Regions from separate parts of the Homo sapiens genome. Here region 2 is linked to region 1. The links are contacts of gene promoters, found by promoter capture Hi-C in blood cells and fetal thymus (Javierre and others, 2016). All regions are on one chromosome and are shown on one strand. The core of a region is centred on a gene start or on the middle of the fragment in contact, and the rest is flanking DNA. Distances in the headings are between cores, read along the strand shown.

Region 1 (2,562 bases), core at 25-2,524:
CTGTCTGTGGGGGGGAGCCCTGGTCTCCAGGACTGGCCAGACTTAAGTCGCCATGGCAGCAATGACCTTCTTTCCTGCCATTGCCCAGGGGAATTCGGAGAGCAAACAAGGAGCCCCCGGGCGCGCGCAGCAACTTGGGTGGTGCCTGGGGCACTTTGTGTTCTAAGTCTGCCTGCACCCCTCAGGGAGACCTATCGGGAGCAGGTGCCAGGGCTACTCACCTACAGGGGTGTCCTCTGGGAGGCTGAACAGAGCCATGTTTCCGTTGGTGCTGCCGACCCCGTTGTCGAAGAAGTGCGGGGCGAAGTTGGCCTGAGCTGGAAAAAGAACACAGAACAGACGGACACCCAGGCAAAGGACACCCAGACACCAGGAGGGAGCTTCGCACCAGCGCGGTCCCGCGTCAGGCCCAGCTACTGGGCAGGAGGGCGCTCCGCCTCCCCAACCCAAGTGCACCGAGGGACCCCACTGGGGCGCCGCCCAGAGGATGCCCCTGACCCCCACTCCGCCCCCGGTGGGCTCGGGCTTGTCAGGGACACGTAGCATGTGGGCGCTTAGAACCCAGGTAGCAATCCAACCCCTCCTTCATCAATGGGCAGATTGCACCCGCGCTCGGAGAGGGGCAGTGCCCCAGCCCAGCCAAGGTCAAGCCGCGAGTCAGGGCACTATCTCCTGCCCCACGCAGCATCGGAGCTGCCACCAAGCCTACAGCTCTGGTTCCCAGCAAGCGGAGAGCAGCGGGGGTCCGGGCGCCAAACCCTGGGGCCCTAGGATGCCAGCTCTGGAGAAGCGCCCCGGAGCTCCCCACTACTCCGCTACCCCACTCCCCACTACCGAATGGGCCAGGAAGATGGAAGGACTTCTCCGCTCCCGTCCACCAGCCCGAGTCCCACTCTGGAAGTGGTCCAGGACCATGTCCCTCTGGCCACCTGGGTGACGCCAGCGCCCATCTCCCTCGCCATCCACGCGGCCAGCGCGGCCCAGCGGCCACTCACCCAAGCAGAGGCGCAGCAGCCCCAGGGCCAGGGCGGCCCACCGGCAGCGCCTCATGTCTCCGCCGGCGCGGAGTGTCGCCTGCCGCCGCCGAGACCGGGCGCAGGGGCACGGAGCATGCCCTGGGCCCGCGGGGAGGGCAGAGACCACAATGGGGGTAGCGGCGACTGCAGCCGCGGCGGGAGGGGGCACGGGGCGGGAGCGGCGGGTGGCGTGAGGGCGCTAAGAGGATGACACGGCTCGGATCTGCTCCTGCCGGCCGCCTGACGAGACCAATTAGCGGCGCAGAGCGGAGCGACAGGCTCCCAGCCGCGGGCGGGGGCAGGAGGGCGTGACAAGAGGACTCCCCGCCCGCCACGCCCCCTTTGCCGGCGGCCCCCAGTCCTGGACAGGAGGACACCATGGGGGACAGGAGTGTCTTTCCCCCAAGTTGTCCTGAGGCTTTCCCAGGGTACTTAAGTCCTGGTGGGGCTTGGGCTTCGCAGTTTTCTTTTCTCATCAACTTCCTCTGTGACTTTCAGGGGCTTAGCTGTCTTCTCTGAGCTAAGCATTCCAGAAGAAAAGTTAGTGGAGCGGCCGAGAGGGCCTTGCCTTAGCAGTCTAAGCAGGTTCTATAAGCCGCGTGAGACCAAAGGCAAAGAGAAAGGGTGATGGATGGGCAGCAGATGGTAAGGGGTTATCAGGACCCCCTCTCTGTGATCTCAACCCATTCCTGCCCTGTTCCCCAGGCTGGACCACCTCTCCCAAAGGGTCTGATCTGTGTGGTGGGCAGCAGGGAGGACCCTCAGGTGTCCACCAGGGTGAGAGGCAGTTCTGCTCCCCATTCCCAGTCAGTGCCCAGTCTGGGACCATGAAGGGGCAGCTGACCCACTCTTCAAACCTTCCAAGGAAGAGTGAAGGGCCTGAAGGCAGAGTTAAGCCCCATCTTAGGACAGACTTGCACAGAGCTGGCCAAGATAGATCTGAACTGCCCGAGAGGCACGAGATCTCATTCCTAGAGGGTATTTACACAAAGCAAGGCACTGCTATTGGGGTCCTGGATGCTGATAACTTGAAGACACAGGTAAGCCCAGGAACCTTTTTGGCTGCTGGTAAAGCTCCTTGGGCTTCCTCGTTCTCCTGCTCTGACACTGGAGGGTGCTTGGAAATGCAGCCTGTTTTCCTTTTCCTGGTTGGGCCATTTATGGGGGTACAGGTCACTTCAAGCCCAAGCCAGGCCACTTCCCAGGATGCCCTTGGGTGGATGTGTTCTCAGATAGAGGAGATCCCTCCTCTGTGTGCTCCTGGGAGAGGTCTCCACAGCTGAGGACTCAGCATTCCCCCCCTCCCCCTGCCAGGGGCCTTTGAGGGAACAGAGCACCCCCCATCCCTTGGTCTAGCCCTACATGATCTACTGTGAGCAAGGGTCAGGGATTTGCAGAGAAGAAGGAAGATGAATCAATGGTTTTAGAATGTGCAGCAGTTTTCAGGCCTAATTGGCCGAAACCCTTGTTGAGTCTCCTTAGGCTTGGCTCTTTTGCTGAAAAGACACACTTTAAATTGCACAGATGTTCTGAATCTGCCTCCCAA
Region 2 (2,562 bases), core at 18-2,517, 110 kb before region 1:
CCAGGTTCACGCCATTCTCCTGCCTCAACCTCCCAAGTAGCTGGGACTACGGGTGCCTGCCACCACGCCCGGCTAATTGGAATATTACCCTTTTCCCCCAAAGATAACCACAATATATTTGGTGTATATATTTCAAATCTCTTTCCTGTGTGTGTGTGTGTGTGTGTGTGTGTGTACGTATATGTATGTGTATATATGTATATATGTGTATATATACATATGTATACATATATACATATATATATCTTTCCTTTGTGTGTGTGTATACATACATGTATACATATATATATACACACACATATATACGCATATACACAAAATATACACTATATACACACATAACTCCAATGATCTATTCTTAACTGGTAAAAAGAAAACTATAAAACAGTATCACAAAACGAATTTTTCTAAGGAGTTATGTGTGTATATAGTGTACAAATATATTGTGTGTATATGTGTAAATATGTGTGTGTATGTATATGTATACATATGTGTATACACACACACGCAAAGGAAAGAGATTTGAAATATATAGCACCAAATATATTACGGTTATCTTTGGGGGAAAAGGGTAATATTCCAAGTAGCTTTTGTTTTCTTTTTTTGCTCATGTGCATGGTCTATTTTTTTCTTTAACGAATATGAATTTTTGTGTGTGATTAAGTTGTATAAGGAGGTTTATTAAAGTGTGCTTTAGGAAAAAGAAATCCTATATTTAAAATGAGGATGGCGGCCAGGTGCGGTGGCTCACGCCTGTAAGCCCAGGACTTTGGGAGGCAGAGGCAGGTGGGTCACCTCAGGTCAGGAGTTGAAGACAAGCCTGGCCAACATGGTGAAACCCTGTCTCTACTAAAAATACCAAAATTAGCCAGGCGTAGTTGTGTGTGCCTGTAGTCCCAGCTAGCTACTCGAGAGGCTGAGGCAGGAGAATTGCTTGAACCCGGGAGGCAGAAGTTGAAGTGAACCAAGATCACGCACTGCACTGCAGCCTGGGCACAGAGCGAGACTCTGTCTCAAAATAAATAAGTACATAAATAAAATAAAATGAGGATGGAGTCTTCTTCTTATTATTATTTTTATTAGAGACAGGGTCTTACTCTGTCACCCAAGCTGGAGTGCAGTGGCACAGTCATAGCTCACTGCAGCCTCAAACGGTTGAACTCAAGGGATCCTCCTACCTCCTACCTCAGTAGCTGGGATTTCAGGCACCAGCCACCTAATCTGGCTAGGATTGCTAAAAAATAGTAATAGCTACAATGTGTTATGTGTTTATTAAGCAGTGGGTCTTGCTCTGAGCACTTTGCATGTATTTATTTATTTAAATCTCACAAGTGCCCTGTGAATTAGGTACTCTTATTACCTTATTTTACAGAGATAGAAGCTGAAGCTGTGTGTCCCCGCATGTCACACAGCTGGAAAGTGACAGAGTCAGGGTTCTAGTTGAGAAAATAGGATTGATGCACCTGTACTCTTAGCCAGCACAGTGTTGTGTTTTAGATATGCCGTTAACATGGTATAGCCACACAATGAGACCAGATAGCATTTGCACCAAATTCCAAAAGATACATATTGCATAAAAATGCCCACAAGATAATTTTAAATGGAAAAAGCCATACACAGAGCTGTGTGAAACTGGAGAGTTGACCTGGTCTTCCCCAGTCAGGGCCAGCTGCCTCTCATGTGTGGAAGTAGAGAGAAGGTTCTGACCCATGGTTCAGGAGGGATCCTCTCTGGGGGTCCTCAGCATCAGGAGCTCTTCCCTGCTGGATGGCTGGAAGAGCATGACCTGCTGGATGGCTGGTCTCTACCAGGTCACCTGGGCCCTGGCTGCTGCTGGTCCTCCAAGGCAGCACAGGGATGGTAGGGCAGTGCATGAGGCCCCTCTCCTCCAACCCCCTTGCAAGCCCCAGGGTATCTGCTTCCTACAGCAGCCATCCCAGAAGGCACATTTTCATTTTACAGATGGTTGGGGCAGTTTTTCTTTATAGATGTATAAATTTTTAGTAAAAGTTATACACAAACATGGCTAAGAGTTCTAAGAGGATACATGATGAAGATAATGATAAAGCACTGCTTTGTGCCACCTCTGACCATACCCTATCTCTCCCCAAGCGTACACTCATAGTTGTAGTTTACTAAATTCGGACATTGCTGCTTTACCTCCTATAGATCATGATTTAGCCCTCTTACATCACCCTCCCCTCTCTTCATTCTCCCAATGTAGCTCTATTTCTATTTTTGGTCAAATCAATAAACAGGCTACCTTATTAGGTCCACACTGACAATGTTCTTTGTAGAGCTAAGGAGTGCGTTTTGACCACATTGTCCTTCTTGTATAGCTCTGTGTCTTTCTTTTCTAATGTCCTAACATTCTTTCTTTTCTTCCATTAGACAATAAACACAAAAACAAAGTCTCTGTGGTATCAGATACAGAATTATCTTCTTTTTTTTCTCCCCCCAGGAGAAAAAGCTCCCTTCCAATGACCTCTGTCTTCCTACTACAATCTGGGCTGTCCTGACATAATTTGGGGGCTTTGATTTGGGCAGTTGAGGAAGAAGATT

The links. Contacts are between HindIII fragments. The CHiCAGO score rates a contact against its expected background, and 5 or more counts as called.
Region 2: a fragment that was not itself captured here is called in contact with the fragment with the promoter of CDHR1 in region 1 in 1 of 17 cell types (neutrophils); the score reaches 6.4 in neutrophils.

The regions. Positions count from the first base shown.
Region 1 is chr10:84,193,249-84,195,810 of GRCh38, reverse strand. CDHR1 (cadherin related family member 1) reads right to left here and starts at 1,274. Exons shown (of 17, transcript NM_033100.4): 1 at 996-1,274; 2 at 222-317. The coding sequence starts at 1,050. RefSeq lists silencers at 1,059-1,178, 1,249-1,378. The HindIII fragment of the contact is 5,936 bases long and covers 1-2,562 here.
Region 2 is chr10:84,299,254-84,301,815 of GRCh38, reverse strand. No RefSeq gene overlaps it. Among named protein-coding and RNA genes, the nearest start is that of LINC00858, 21 kb to the right of the region's middle. The HindIII fragment of the contact is 8,547 bases long and covers 1-2,562 here.